Regions from separate parts of the Homo sapiens genome. Here regions 1, 2 and 4 are each linked to region 3. Evidence: promoter capture Hi-C in 16 types of primary human blood cells and fetal thymus (Javierre and others, 2016). All regions are on one chromosome and are shown on one strand. The core of a region is centred on a gene start or on the middle of the fragment in contact, and the rest is flanking DNA. Distances in the headings are between cores, read along the strand shown. Region 1 overlaps NMD3 (NMD3 ribosome export adaptor). Region 2 holds the start of SLC33A1 (solute carrier family 33 member 1). Region 3 holds the start of GFM1 (G elongation factor mitochondrial 1). Region 4 holds the start of SSR3 (signal sequence receptor subunit 3).

Evidence for each region. Contacts are between HindIII fragments. The CHiCAGO score rates a contact against its expected background, and 5 or more counts as called.
Region 1: a contact is called between a fragment that was not itself captured here and the fragment with the promoter of GFM1 in region 3, in 1 of 17 cell types (naive CD8 T cells). The highest score is 7.1, in naive CD8 T cells.
Region 2: a contact is called between the fragment with the promoter of SLC33A1 here and the fragment with the promoter of GFM1 in region 3, in 7 of 17 cell types (naive CD4 T cells, naive CD8 T cells, fetal thymus and 4 more). The highest score is 9.3, in naive CD4 T cells.
Region 4: a contact is called between the fragment with the promoter of SSR3 here and the fragment with the promoter of GFM1 in region 3, in 3 of 17 cell types (total CD4 T cells, total CD8 T cells and total B cells). The highest score is 7.4, in total CD4 T cells.

What each region holds. Positions count from the first base shown.
Region 1 is chr3:161,222,288-161,226,255 of GRCh38, forward strand. NMD3 (NMD3 ribosome export adaptor) reads left to right here. Exons shown (of 16, transcript NM_015938.5): 3 at 2,643-2,777. It also overlaps the pseudogene SRP14P5. Among named protein-coding and RNA genes, the nearest start is that of NMD3, 3.0 kb to the left of the region's middle. The HindIII fragment of the contact is 2,700 bases long and covers 1-2,640 here.
Region 2 is chr3:155,852,304-155,855,890 of GRCh38, forward strand. SLC33A1 (solute carrier family 33 member 1) reads right to left here and starts at 2,124. Exons shown (of 6, transcript NM_004733.4): 1 at 920-2,124. The coding sequence starts at 1,694. It overlaps LOC105374174 (a long non-coding RNA gene), which reads left to right and starts at 2,450. Exons shown (of 3, transcript XR_924607.4): 1 at 2,450-2,775. RefSeq lists enhancers at 1,712-1,781, 2,152-2,711. The HindIII fragment of the contact is 4,607 bases long and covers 1,365-3,587 here.
Region 3 is chr3:158,642,281-158,646,307 of GRCh38, forward strand. It overlaps GFM1 (G elongation factor mitochondrial 1), which reads left to right and starts at 2,247. Exons shown (of 18, transcript NM_024996.7): 1 at 2,247-2,435; 2 at 3,349-3,501; 3 at 3,885-4,017. The coding sequence starts at 2,355. The HindIII fragment of the contact is 2,960 bases long and covers 1-2,844 here.
Region 4 is chr3:156,553,400-156,557,412 of GRCh38, forward strand. It overlaps SSR3 (signal sequence receptor subunit 3), which reads right to left and starts at 1,718. Exons shown (of 5, transcript NM_007107.5): 1 at 1,558-1,718; 2 at 256-382. The coding sequence starts at 1,690. RefSeq lists an enhancer at 1,577-1,656. The HindIII fragment of the contact is 5,682 bases long and covers 560-4,013 here.

The sequences.
Region 1 (3,968 bases), core at 41-2,540, 2.6 Mb after region 3:
GATCGGCACTGTCCAATATGTAGCCATTAGCTACGTGTGGCTATTTAAATTTACTTTTTACTTACTTTTTTTTTTTGAGACGGAATCTCGCTCTGTTGCCCAGGCTGGAGTGCAGTAGTGTGATCTCGGCTCACTGCAACCTCCACCTCCCGGGTTCAAGCAATTCCCTGCCTCAGCCTCCCGAGTAGCTCGGATGACTTCCTGATTTTTATTGGAGATTATAATGTAGTAATTTTTAAATTTTGAACATCTTAAATCTTAGTTATCAATTTTTAATTTCTTGCATTTAAGTTCAAATTAACTTTTTTTTTTTTGCTGTTAAATAGGTTTAATGATACAGTGCTCTTCAAAGAGATTACTACAGAGACTTTTAAACGATAATCCTGGAATCGTTCAGCACAGACCAATTAGCTAAATCTAAAATAAATTGGCTTCTTACCACAACTACCCTGTAAACATTGTAGTCCTTCTGTCTAGAATGACCCTAATCTCACAGGAAAACAGTAACTATGGAGAAACTAGCTTTGTGGCCAAAAGTAAAAACCAAAGGAAAAATAGGAATTCAGTGGTTAGTGAAAGCAGGAAATTTGGCCCCCTTCCCTGTGATGCTTTACTCTTCCCTTGTCCATCAGTTAGCTCAGTGGGTTTGAATAAGCCATCTGAAAATGTCTTTGGAGCTCAGCATAGTGCTGATCTTCCTTGTTCTATCAGTAGCTTTTAACAGACACTTGTCTAAGGGCTCAAAGCCCTTCACAGAACCCTTTCTTGGAATGGGTTGTTTGACCATTATACTTCCCTCCGGACAACCAGCACTTCTGGAAGAGCCTGGTTAGCTCTGTCAGGAACTGCTTTCTTTCCAGGTGGTACCGCTGGCTCCACTCTGTCAACATAAACCCCAAGCAGTTTAAGTTGGAAGTTTCCTAAATTAATTTAAATGGAATAAAATTAAATACTTGGTTGCTCGTTTGTACTAGCCATGTTGCCACATGTGGCTAGTGGCTACCATTGGACATGGAAGATTATTGAACTTTTATTTTGGACAATGTTGTTCTACATTAGGGGTTCTCAGACTTTTTCTGCCCCCAGTACATCTCGAATTATGATAGTTCCGTCATTTATACTGAGTCTCTAGATGTTGATAGACTTCCTATACTGTTAAAAAAAAAATTCTGCTATGGGTAAATGTTTATATTTCAGCAGTCCTTATGCTTTTTTTTTTTAATTGCCTTTGGAGTATATTGGCGTCTGATTCTGTTAGAAATGATTTAGATATTAGTTTCTATTGGTGTAGTCCAGAGATATACTTGAAGAAATGTTCATTAGAGATAAGTAGACAGCTGTAGTCTTTTAATGTAGTGACACCATACTGTTCACCTAAGCTATGGTCCTCTGTATGCCCTGAATAAATAGATTTTTGAAGACTTAGTATTTAGAGATGAGGTGGTTGAATTAAAAAGAGACAAACTGATCTTACATATTCTTGATACAGGATTTTCTTTTTGGTTTTTGCCATTGACACACTATTGCCTTGTTAATTGATTCTTTCTTGGTTTTCCAATTTTCAACAAGGGATAATGAATAACAGTGCTTCTCAAATTTTTCCCAAGTTTGCTATTACACTTGTGGTTGGGAAGTTTATCTGTTTATTTGTAAAAGTTAATGTGAATGTTTGTGTCTGCATAGAAAATGTTTGGAAGGATATATACAAATTATTAATAAATGTTATCTTTATGGATAGTGTTGGTTGGGTGTGGTAAAGAGCACGTTAACATTTTTAATTATATTTCAGTATCTAAAATTAAAATTAGTGCAAGATTTGTATTCTTCATCAATATACCTCCATTTGTTTTAATGTGACAATATAGTTTCATTTGCTTTTAATAAAAAAGACTTGTTTAGACCCATACTGGCTATTTAAATGTAAATTTGAATTAAAAAAATAAATTGAGTTTCTCAGTTGTACTAGTCACTTTTCATGTCCCAGTTGCCACATGTGGCTAGTGGCTACCTTGTTGTACAGACCAGAATAGAACATTTCTGTCGTGGCATGAAATTCTGTTGGACAGTACTGACCTTCTAGAACCTTTAGGACATCGGCCTTATATTGAGGATTTTTAGAATTATAGCCATTTTTGGTGTTTTTGCCCCTGTATTACAGGGTTATTCTTTATCTACTGCATCTTTGAAGATTGCTTTGTTTCTTTTTTTTGTTTCTTTTTTTTGAGACATTGTCTTGGTCTGTCACCCAGGCTGGAGTGCAGTGGCGTGATCTGGCTCACTGCAACTTCCACCTCCTGGGTTTGATATGCATGCCTCAGCCTCCCAAGTAGCTGGGATTACAGGCGTGCGCCACCATGCCTGGCTAATTTTTGTATTTTTAGTAGAGATGGGGTTTCACCATGTTGGCGAGGCTGGTCTTGAACTCCTTATCTCAGGTGATCTACCCGCCTCAGCCTCCCAAAGTGCTGGAATTACAGGTGTGAGCCACTGGCTGGCCCAGGTTGCTTTGTTTCTGTTATTTTTTTGAAAAGGGCAAAGATGCTGTGGCCTAACTTGAAGGCTTTTGTTTGTTTGGCATCTAAAAAAAAATTTAGTGTATTTTAAAAATCTAATGTGAAAAATTTATCCTTTATTTATTAAAGCTTGTGCTGTGAGTGTGGTGTTCCGATAAGTCCAAATCCTGCCAATATTTGTGTGGCCTGTTTGCGAAGTAAAGTGGACATCAGCCAAGGTATTCCGAAACAAGTCTCGATTTCGTTCTGCAAACAATGTCAAAGGTACAGTGCGGTACAATTTTGCTCTTTTTAAAGTTGGAATTTACATTTAGAGAACCACCGAGATATGCTGAGATTACACGAAGGTATATGGAGTAAAGTGCATGCAATTAAGGTTTAAATTTTCTGTTGGTGTCGCCAAAGATTTTAGAATTTGCAATTTTATAGTGTACTTTTCTAGTGTGTCCTTCTAATCTGGTAAAGATAGTGTAAATGTATTTGAATCTGTTCTTCTGTTAAAGGATCTAATAGATTTGATGTATATAGTTAATAGGAGTTGATGTTTGTAAGGGTGAGAGCAGATTATTGAGGACATATTGTTATTATGAGGTTTTTTTTTCTTTAGTTATTAGAAGCCATGTATGATAAAAAGCTTATGTTTGGAGTAATTTAGTAATATGTTTTAAAAACTCATAACATTCACGTGTAATTAAAATAACTATTGTTGATGGAAAAGAAGCTCAATAAATTATATCTGGAATGGTCTGAAATAAAGATTGGATTTGAAGGAAGAAGACTTCTTCTGAATGTTAATGTTTCATTCCTCTTGATTTTCTTTGTCAGCATAAACAACTTACATCTATTAGGCCATTGAGTAACACAAAACTGCCTAATGAGTGTAAAAGTGTATGCCTGTTATTTCCAAAATGGATTAAGACGCTAACTTTTTGAGTGTGTATCTCTAGAGGGGTGGTTCATGGACTCCTTTGAGAATTTGAAAACTGTATCTCTTCCCCAAAATATTTACATACATGTATATATATGTGTGTGTGTGTGTATATATGTAAAAATATATATGTGTGTGTGTGTATATATACATATATATACACAAACACATGAAACTGTGTACTGTTTCAGGGAGTTTACAGTGTATAAGCTTAGCAAGTGTGAGGCTTAATCTTTTATAAATATTTGCTATTAAAAGCCTGGTGGAGTTAGAAAAGTACTGATAAAGAACTAAACAGACTTAGTTTGTCTTGGCTTCCTCACAAACTAGCTGTTTGAAACTCTTAGCTGTTTATCATCTCTGGGCCTCAATTTCCTCATCAGAATGAAGGGTTTTATTAGGTGATATGTGAAGCCCTTTCTAACTCTAAACGTTTACTCATAGGCCAGGCTTGGTGGCTCACGCCTGTAATCCAAGCACTTGAGGAGGCTGAGGCGGGTGGATCACCTGAGGTCAGGAGTTCGAGA
Region 2 (3,587 bases), core at 874-3,373, 2.8 Mb before region 3:
ATCTCAATTAAAAAAAAGAAGAAAAAAGAAAAAAGAGAAAAACTTACATGTGTTTTACTCATGCAGAGAAACAGGGAAATTTTTTAGAACTTACCCTCCATTACTTACAGGACAAACTTTAAACTCTTTTCCCATAGTAATTAAAGAAAATCTTACTAATTTAGTCACAGCCTTTCTCAGCACGATTTCCCAAACCCAGTTCCACAATTTAGGCAATGTCCTGTACTTTTTTGTACTTTCCTGCCTCAGTGCACTTTTACTTTGTGTTGTGCATTCTGGTGTGCCATTTCCTGGCCTCGTGGAATCTTATTCAAGAACAAAGTCAAATGTTATCTGCAATGTGAAGCCTGACTCCCAAAGGCAGTTACTAACTGGCAACTCTGAACTCTCCTAAAATGTTCATCTTCCTTATTTCTTGAGTGCAGAACTCTGCCTTATTCATTAGAGGCCTTAGAATCCCGTCCCTTAGCTGGTTCAATAATGTTTGAACGAATAAACCCTGTTCCATTCACTAGAAGGCTGGATTCTGGGTACAACGGTAGGGGTAGAAATGGATTAGAAAGTATAGAGCTAGAAACCTAAAACCAACAAGACAAAAGGAAAAATGTGAACCATATGAGCCACACTTTTTAAAAGTGTGCATTTGTGTATTAAGCAAGTGGCATGAATCCCTGGACTCGGTTGTGTTATTTGATGGGTTGCCTCTCCCTGTTAACCGCATAGTGATCATTTGATTGCTCTAATATCATTCATTTTGGCTTTAATATTTCAAAGAAGCTCATTTGGACGAAACAGAAAACTTACCTTGAGTTATCTCCCATACAATGATTTCCAGTAAATTAATGAGCTTCCCTCCAACGTCACACACTCTTTCAAAAGGATAAATAAACCTAACACCATAATAGCTTAAATACACTACCTGAAAGAGTAACGATTCCTCTGGGTTGAGGCTGAAACCGCAAATATTTGTTACAAAAGTCGGCAGATTCAAGGGCCAAAAACAAAACATTGCCCAAAAAGTAACCCGCTGTTTGGCCCACCGAATTGCAAGTAGAAGCATAACCCACATTTTCCCTGGATAACATAGTTAACGCCCAACCATCGACGGCAATGTCCTGAGTGGCGGCCAAGAATTCAAACAAAAAGAACGCCACAGTGAGAGCAATCACGTCGGGTGTTCTGTCATCGGTATTCCCAAGCAAACGGTCCACCTGAGTGGATAAATAGATCATGAAGAGTCCTAGTATATACTGTGTCGGGACAAGCCAAGATTTGCGACGACCGAAGTTCTTAACGTAGACCGCATCAACCAACGGGGCCCAGAGTAATTTGAGACTGAAGGGCCAAAAGACAAAACTGAAGAAAGCTTGGTCTGTATAGCTAACATTTTTGCTTTGCAAAATGAGTGGGATGCTTCCCGCCAAGCCCAGGGGAATACCCTGAAGCACGTAAAGAAAGAGTAGTAGCAAAATGCTGCTTAGTTCGGCCCGGAAGCTCTGTGGGGCTTTTAAGAAGTCGCCAGTGCCGGTATCCCCCAGAAGAGCTTCTCTGTCCCCTTCCCGGCCCGCTGAGTCCAAATGACTGTCATCCCAACCGCCTGGCGGCAGGGGACCGCTCTTCATATCCAGAGAGTGACTGAAATTCCCTGGCCGCCGTTGCCGGCTGCTGTCCTTGTGGGAGATGGTGGGTGACATATCAGAGACGATGCAGAGCCCCGTCTGTGGGGGGCCGAGGCTGAGCGTTTTGGATCCGTCCAGTCCCAGGTCCAAGGCTGTCGCGCTGGACCAGGGTTTCGGTGGTTCACGGGATGGTGGCAGGGCTCAGAGCGATAAGGGCACTTCTTACTGCAGCCCGGAGTGCTGAAGCCGGGAGCCAGTCCTCTGGCTAGAGGCCCAGAGGATGCCTGGATAGGTGCCCCCTGGAACGGCGTCAAAGAGCCTGAAGGAGACCCCCGGGCAGCAGCGCCGGGCTCGAGGCTGGAGGTGTGTGCCGTGGTGCCAGGATGGAAACCAGCTCCTACCTGCGGCGGGATCGAACGGCTGGTCTCCCGACCCAACACCTCCAGCTCTCGCTGCTATCAATGCGGCAGAGAGCACTTTCTCTACAGGACTCCAGAAAAAGCATATAACTTCCTGCCTCGCGCTTCAGGAAGTGGTCCCAGTCTCTAACAGGTCCCTTCCCAGCCTCCAGAGCAAGCCAATCAGGGACACGCTCTCGTGGCCCAGTTCGGAAACAATGCTTGGTGGGAACCTGCAATCTTGGCTGCCGGAACCTTCGGGGAGGATTAACGCCGGCGCACCGTGCGGCCGGGGCGGGGCGCCGCCCAAACTCAGGCCCTGTGACAGCGACTGTGGCGGTCTGGAAAGCGTGGGCCTCGGTCATTGGGCACGAGCGGTCACGTGACAGCGGGTTCCTCCAGGCCAGCGCTGGTGGTTGAGTGATGTAATCACGTGGGGTCTGAAGTCTTCGTGGGTGTAGGTTTCTTCGTTATGCTGACGACAGGCAGTGCCCGAACTCTAGGCTGGGAGTTGTGCCATGCTGCTGCTTTCGTGGGCTGACCAGAAAAGGGTAGAAGGATTGACGTTTACGAAGTTTTTGAATCAGGAGGCAAGGTCGCCTTGTGCCCCCAAAAGGATAGAAAAAGGCCTGGCAAACTGGAGAATCGCGTCCTTACGGTGCCTACATATTTATAGTACGAATTAAACTGCTCAAGGGGTGCTAGGTTTGTCTGCAGTCCGTTTCTCCCTCATGGTGGAAGACGCGTGGGGAAACTTGGTAACCAACTCTAATTACATTGGTGATTGGAAGACTCGTTACATCCTGTTTTTATGTTGCAATAAAACGTCTTGTGGCCGGGCGCGGTGGCTCACGCCTGTAATCCCAGCACTTTGGAAGGCCGAGGCGGGCGGATCACCTGAGATTGGGAGTTCAAGATCAGCCTGACCAACAAGGAGAAACCCGTCTCTACTAAGAGACGTACAGGAATTTGAGAATCTGATTAATTTTTTTTCTGCTCTCTCACCTCTGGCAGAAAGATTATTATTTTTTTTTCTTTTGAGAGGAATCTCACACTGTCGCCTGGGCTGGTGTTCAGTAGGGCCATCTCGGCTCGCTGCAGCCTCCACCTCCCGGGTTCAAGCGATTCTCCTGCCTCAGCCTCCCGAGTAGCTGGGACTACAGGCACGCGCCACCACGCCCGGCTAATTTTTGTATTTTTAGTAGAGACGGGGTTTCACTATGTTGGCCAGGCTGGTCTCGAACTCCTGACCTCGTGATCCGCCTGCCTCGGCCTCCCAAAGTGCTGGGATTACAAACGTAATGGCAGGCTAGGCACAGTGGCTCACGCCTATAATCCCAGAACTTTGGGAGGCCGAGGCGGGTGGATCACGAGGTCAAGAGATTGAGACCATCCTGGCCAACACGGTGAAACCCCGTCTCTACTAAAAATACAAAAAATTAGCTCGGCCTGGTGGCGCGCGCCTGTAGCCCCAGCTACTTGGGAGGCTGAGACAGGAGACTCGCTTGAACCTGGGAGGCGGAGGTTGCAGTGAACCGGGATCGTGCCACTGCAATCCAACCTGGCGACA
Region 3 (4,027 bases), core at 997-3,496:
AATCTGTATTTGCAGCTGTTCCCCAGCCCTAGCGGCCACACCTTAGCTCCACCTCAGGTCATCAGGCATTAGATTCTCATAAGGAGTGCGTAACCCAGATCCCTTGAATGGATAGTTCACAAGGGGGTTCACACTCCCATGAGAATCTAATGCCACTGCTAATCTGACAGGAGGCAGAGCTCAGGTGGTAATACAAGTGATAAGGAGAGGGTGTAAATACAGATGAAACTTCACTCGCTCGCCCACTGCTTACCTCCTACTGTGTGGCCTGGTTCCTAACAGGCCATGGACTGATACTGGTCTCTGGCCCAGAGGTTGGGGACTCCTGTGTTAGAACATGTAGATGCCAAGTACCTGTGCCAACCACAGGTCCACCTTTGCATACTTGACCTTACCAGTATTTTATGAATATATATGTACAGCTCCCATGTTACCAGTGAAGGGTCTTGACTATGAGTCATACAGGTTCTTGGCGTTTGAACAAAGAATTGGACAAAACACATAAGCAAAGCAATGAAAGAATGGAGCAATGAAGGCACAGATGTGTTGAAACAAAAGTACACTCCACAGCTCAAGAGCACCTGTTACAGAATTTTCTGGGATTTAAATACCCTCTAGAGCGTTCCCATTGGTTACACCCTATGTAAATGAAGGAGTGGCCCATAACCAGCCTGCTTGGTTGCAGGAGGTGACCAATCAGAGGCTGAAGTGAAGTTACAAAGTTACACATGAGGACTTGGCCTGCTACCAGTCTGATTATTTGCCAGAGGGGACCAGTCAGAGGTACTTTCCATTTTTTCATCTGCAATGCAGTGCATTGGGAGTAGCCTCCGATCCTTTTGTTACTTGGGCATGGAGAGGTGGGGTTTTCCTTTTGGTTCAGCTCTAGGAAGTCAGCAGGGCCTTCGGTTCCCTGTCTCTAGACCCTGTTCTCCTGCCTCACCCATAAAGGGAATTCCCTAGAGATACTAAAGGCTGTCTGTCTCTCTTCTGAGCAGCCCACTCTGCCTCTCAGAGTGTACTTTTGGTTTACAATAAACTTTTTTGCCTACTCTTACTTTGTACTTGCTTTCAAATTCTTTTGTGTGGTGAAGTCAAGCACCTGAACCGGCCCACTGACAACAGCAAGGATAGAAGCAGTGAGATCGGTTACAAGGCTATTACAATAGTTCCCTCCAGAAACGGCAGTACTGAGAGGTGGGGAGAAGTAAGTTCTGGATTTTCTTTTTTTTTTTTTTTTTTTGAGACTCGCTCTGTCACCCAGGGTGGAGTGCAGTGGCGTGATCTCGGCTCACTGCAAGCTCCGCCTCCTGGGTTCACACCATTCTCCTGCCTCAGCCTCCCGAGTAGCTGGGACTACAGGCGCCCGCCACCGCGCCCGGCTAATTTTTTTTTGTATTTTTAGTAGAGACGGGGTTTCACTGTGTTAGCCAGGATGGTCTCCATCTCATGACCTCGTGATCTGCCCGCCTCGGCCTTCCAAAGTGCTGGGACTACAGGTGTGAGCCACCGCGTCCGGCCCTGGATGTCTTTTTGAAAGTAGAGCTTACAGGATATGCTGACTGATTAGACCGGAGATGTCACAGCATGGTGTCAAAGCGACTAATATTTTTGGCTAGAATCACTAAAGTTTACATTTATGAGATGGATAAGACTGTGGAAGGTTTGGGGAAGAAGATCCGAAGCTCAGTTTTGGACCTGTTAGGTTCAACATGCCTCTTAACACATCCAAGCAGAATGGTCAAGGATGCAGTCTTCCACATGGACAGGACATGAAATGTCTGACATCGAACAATAACAAATAACATTTTGACATGAGGAAAAGTATTTGTAATTGTAATTGATAGTTCATTCACTATAATTTGTCCACGTTCTTTTTCAGGCCATGTCATATATATACCTATTAATATTTGTAATAGACAATTTTGCTCTTTTCTACTTAAATTGTTATATACATTTCTCCACATTGCTTTATAGGCCTAACAACCATGTTTAAATTCTGTATCTTCATACAGAGGTAATATTTAAAAAAGAAGACGAAGACAAAAGGACTCCCTTCCCTCACCCATATACCTATGCCGTCTTACTGGGAGCAAACACTTCTTTAGCTCCGCAAAGCGATTGCACTTTCTCTTCCAAGTCGGCAGACGGCGCGCGAGCAGCGTAGGCACTGCTCCGCCTCCAATCCAGTTGCTCTTCTTTCTTTTCCTCACTCTCTTTTTCCTCGCGTCCTTTGCCCCGGAAGTGCTCTTACAACATTGGCTGCCGGCGTGACTTTGACCGCTTCCCGGTGCGTTACCGGCAGCTGAACCCACCCGGCGCCACGGGACTTTGACGCGTGCTCTGCGCTTGCCATGAGACTCCTGGGAGCTGCAGCCGTCGCGGCTCTGGGGCGCGGAAGGGCCCCCGCCTCCCTAGGCTGGCAGAGGAAGCAGGTACCGGAGCATAGAGAGGCTAAATCGGGACCATTCCCGGAACCTTGTGATCCCTTCTGGGCAATGGAAGGCCGTGACACCCCCTGGGTCCTCATGACTGACAGCTCCGAATACTGGCAGTCGCTCGTCAGTGCTGAAAAGCACCTCGGTGCCTGCACATTAGCTCGTTAGCTCGTTTGTTTCGCTCTCTGGTATCCCTAGGGTTTAATCAACTAAAAGTGTCTGTCACTCAGATACTTTGATATTTTATCCACCTTTTCTAAGGTTTTTTTTTTTTTTTTTTGCCTCTCTTTTCCCGTGAATAATTGTGCATTTTGGATGTGCAGTCCTATAGGGAAAGGTTTATATTGTATCTTCATTCCATCTAATAGGGATCCCCATCCCCTGCCACCAGAGTAAAGTTAAAACAAGCTTCATGAATTGTTTTTGTTTGGAGGGAATTGGAAATCTTTGGGGGCTGTCTTGGAGCTACTAGCATCACTGCATAGAGCATATAAGTTCTCAAACATATTTGTCATCTGTGAACTACAATAAAGGAGAAAGGGAAAAAAATTAAGTTAAATTTAAGCTAAAATTTGTATTTTCTATTAAAGTATTTTTTGGAGCTGTCTTTGTGATTTTATCTGCCCCAGTGTGTATTTTCAAATCTGCAGTAAAAAGTGTCTCCCATTTTAATTAAATTTAACTTATTCATTAATTAATTTTAAAAGAATACGTCTTTACTGTCTTGTTTTGAAGTCTGTCCTCTGATTACAAGAGTTCCAGGCTTAAAGGTTTCCCCTGGTGCCTTTCTCAAGCTATCTCATATCCAGTGAGATTTCTTGGAGGAATAATGTCCACCATACTCCTTTTAATTGTCTGTTGTTCTCTCTTATAAAAGGTGCATAGAATTGAGCTCTCGTATTTTTTTCAGGTTAATTGGAAGGCCTGCCGATGGTCTTCATCAGGGGTGATTCCTAATGAAAAAATACGAAATATTGGAATCTCAGCTCACATTGATTCTGGGAAAACTACATTAACAGAACGAGTCCTTTACTACACTGGCAGAATTGCAAAGATGCATGAGGTATATATTCACGGTTGATTCCGGATTAATTAGAACCAGATTTTAATTGTTTTGTTGCTATTATTTAATAAAGCTTATAAACCTGAAAGATTAAAACAATGGTAACAGCGGACTTTTGACAGTTAGGCTTATCTGAAAGTTGCTTAAGTTAAGTATCTGTGTTCTGGTTTTATTTTTATTTTTTATAGAAGAGGTCTCACTTTGTTGCTCAGGCTGGTCTCAAACTCTTGGGCTCAAATTATCATCCTGCCTCAGTCTCCCACAGTGCTGGGATTATAGGCATGAGCCACTGCACCTGGCAACTGTTTCCATTTCAGTTAAGATTTCTTTCCTTCTTGGAATGCAGGGACAGAGAAAGTCTGAATTGCTGTGCTTGTGTTTAGGTGAAAGGTAAAGATGGAGTTGGTGCTGTCATGGATTCCATGGAACTAGAGAGACAAAGAGGAATCACTATTCAGTCAGCAGCCACTTACACCATGTGGAAAGATGTCAATATTAACATTATAGATACTCCTGGTGAGTTGGA
Region 4 (4,013 bases), core at 468-2,967, 2.1 Mb before region 3:
ATATTAAGGCCTGTGTTTAAGTGTTCTAATTCCACCCTCAAAATCTGCTTCTGTAGCCGTGTCAGAATGATCATTGTCTCTACTTCAGTTAGTTAATAATTCTTCCTAGCATCAATGTTCCTTTCCCCCAAAATGTTTATTAATATATATATCTCAAATTAATGCTTATTAAAACCAACACACACAAATGATCTTTAAGAAGACATATAAAAATATAACATGTAGTACGTACTTTCACTTGAAAAACATACTTACTTGTGCTTGAGAACAAATTTCACATTCTTGTATGCAAAGGCTACCAAATATGTGCTTACTAGGGTCATCACACTATACAAAACAGCAGACTGAATAAGATCCATATGCCATATTCGCCAGTATAACCCTGAATTAAAATAAAAGGGGGAAGGGTACAAAAAGAAGCAAAACATTACAACCCCGCAACAAAAGCCTGCGAAATTAATTATAGCTAAGCCTGGTAAAATACCAGGTTATTAGTTATGCAATCCAATAGTATCTGAGGATCTTCAGAAGCGAGATAACCAGTAACAGTATAGTCTCAAGCTTTCCAGTTCAGAACATTTGAAAAACATCACCTTCCTATTACTAGTCCAGATGAGATTTCAACTTCTAAAATGAGAACAAACTCTGGCTCAACGTAATCACAAGTCAGACTTCAAATTTCATTCATCAGGGTACTAGCATGCGAAACACAGGCCATTCCAAAATGCCACGTGCAGCCCCAAACCATAGTTTCCTTGCTGACGTGGCTGTTATCAGAACTCCAAGCAGTGCTATGTCCAATTAGTGAGCCATCATATGGCTTCACATCACGTTAATGGCACGCTGGGTTGTATAAGGACAAAAGAGAAAAATACATTTAGTTTTAAATGCCCAACAACAGTGCAGCAAAAGACAGGAGTTCTGGAAACTTGAGCTCTACTAAAAACGACCTTGTCCAAGTCTGCAGTTTCCCAACCAAGTGAGAATTCTAGAATTGGTCCAGTAGGATTATTAAAAAGTATAAATAAGGTAGATCCCTAACCCCTGGCACTTCAACCTCTCTCTTTTTGCAAAAACCAGGAAAATTATGCAATGGTGTGAAGTAGCTCACGTAAAGATGCACTTATAATTCAGTGGGTCACTTCATGGGTTTCTCACCTAACTAATTTATGCAAAATAAGTAATAAGTTTAAAATTTCGTAACGGCAAGCAACAGTTGTATAGAAAAGGGCAGAGGCAGTATGCTTGAGTTTGTCTGTTTAAATAGAGATTCGGGGCCGCCACCCCAGAACTAGTTAACCACCTTCTCCTGGGGTGGAGCTCGGGAACGTGCGTACTTTTAACAAGTGACCTCCCCGAGTGCTGCACAGGACAATCCCAAGCGACAACACTGTGCCCAAAGAAGAGGCTCCGTGCCTCCCCGAGCTCAGGGGAGCTGGAGAGATTGCCGACCCCCGGCCGGCACCCACGCCTTCCCTGCTCGCCGGGTCCTGCCACGTCCCCGCCCAGCCCGACTAGCCGGCGGCCTGCCTAACCCGCCTCGCTCCCAGCACTCACAGATGGGGATGGCAGACACGATGAACGCGTTTCCGAAGAAGAGCGCGGAGGACTTGGCCGAGAGATTGCGGCTGAAATCCTGCAGGAGCAGGTCCTCCTCAGACTGCTGTTTGGAGCTGCCTTTAGGAGCCATGGCGGAGCTGCAGGCGAGAACAGGGAACGTAGAGCCGGCCGCCAAGGCGGGCAAAGGCCCTTGACTCCGCCCCTGCGGCCGCCGTATCCGCTAACGACCCGTCAGCGCGGCGCGCGGAGGCGGGACCCGGTTTGGCGAAGAGCAAGCGTCCCCAGGATTGGCCAGCTTGGCGCCACTAGATAGGCTTCCGGGCGTGATTGGGCGAGCGGGCCAGACTTCCGGATTCCTGACAAGCCACGTGACCCACCCACCTGGAGGAGAGAGAAGGGATTTGTAGTTTAGTCGGTGCTTTAAAAAAAATTAACAAAACTTTATTGATATTCCACTTCAGAGCTGCTGACAGACTCACGAGTTCTCAGTTCTTCAGAATTCCAAAATTAAAAGCTCTTCTGGCCCCACGCCATTAGTGCCCTCTGTGCGTACCCAGGACTGAGTACGTTGAAGAAGAAAGAAGAGAAAGGTATAGCTAACTCATGTAAAATCCCTTCTCCTTTACACATCCTTTATTTCATTAAATACCTTGAAGAATCTTATGACGTGCGCATCATTACCGCCATTGCAGCTGAAGAGCCTGAGGGTCGTAGACCTGCGGTGTGGGTCTCCAAGGCGTGGGCTCTTTTCACTAAACAATAGGCCACCTCTGTAGGAAGAAGAAAATGGGACTCTTGCTTTTAAGAAACTCATGATCTCATTGATGAAGGCAATATTTAATATATGTCTGATACAAGTTACTACTATTTTATTTTATTTCAACTAGACCTATAGAGTTTTGTGGCTTCCAAAGCCATGCTAAATAAAACATAATACTAAGAACAGGTTGGCTAGGCAAGACTCCCTCTCTGAAGCTCAGAAGGATTAAGTATGTCTATTAAAACAGCTAGATTCCATTTTTAACTCAACACATTATCATTTTTTCTTCAAAAAAAAATTCAACCACATCACTCCCAGCAAATGCTACTTTTGATTACTGAGAACACTCTAGTGCATTAGGCACAATTTCCTCAACCTCCAGCCTCCTTATTAACCGTTTGGTAGATATCTTTCTTCCTCACAGTATCCAAATTGTAATCTACCTCCACAGCTTCCTATTACTAGTCCTAATTGGGCTTTTGTCTTCAATCTTTTCCAGTCTATTCTCTATACAGGTACCAGAGTGAGTTTTCCTGAAATATAAATCCTTCCATTATCTACCGCAAGTGTTCCTTAATGCCAGAAGTTTTCATTAATTCACCACAAAATGAAAAAGAAAAAAAGACCATCTAGTGAATTTTTCAGAAAATCAAAAGTATTCATTTAAAAATATCTGGGTTTATGTCTTTTTTGATGTTAAAAATGCTCTTTATTTTATTACATGGTAGTGATAGAAGAAGAAATTATTATTTTCTCTTACACATACTCCTCCCCCAGTTTTTCCTATCTCACTAAGTTGCATTCTTTTAAACTCATTTGTTGTTCTGGTTAAAATAGTGGGTTTCAACACTAATTATTTTTTTCCTTCTCCATCTATGACCAATTCATAAATAAAACTTTTTGGATCTGTCTCTATAACTAGATTTTCTTCTGCCTATTTATAAACAAACTAAGGATATAAAAAGAAGATAAAAGATAAAAATCAGAGGCTGGGTGCGGTGGCTTATGCCTGTAATCCCAGCACTTTGGGAGACCAAGGTGGGTGGATCACAAGGTCAAGAGACCGAGACCATCCTGGCCAACATGGTGAAACCTCGCTTTTACTAAAAATACAAAAATTAGCCAGGCATGGTGGCGCACGCCTGTAGTCCCCAGCTACTCAGGAGGCTGAGGCAGGAGAATCACTTAAACCCGGGAGGCAGAGGTTGCAGTGAGTCAAGATCGCGCCACTACACTCCAACTCCAGCCTGGCAACAGAGCAAGACTCCATCAAAAAAAAAAAAAAAAAAAAATCAGAAAACTAAAAGATCCAAAGAGACAACAATCATCTTTCTTTTAAAAGAAGAAAAGAAGAAATGATAAGGATGAGATTTAAAAAAATTATGCCTGAGAAAAATATTTTAACAATTAAAATAGGAAAGATAAAAGTTTGAAATGTTTAGTGGATATAAATGTTACAATTGATATAATCAAAAAAAGCTAGCAGAAAAAAATTAATACATTTTGTAAAGCTAAAGGTAACTATAAACAGAAGATAATCTAAAATATGAATTTCAAATTATTTTGTGGGGGTAAATTAGAGAAATATGATAGGGAATGATACTTATGATAGAATATTTTTGGTAATGGCAACAATTACAATTATGAAGGTGGCACACTTGGAGTACTGAAGCAGTGTTTTCTTGCACCAGAG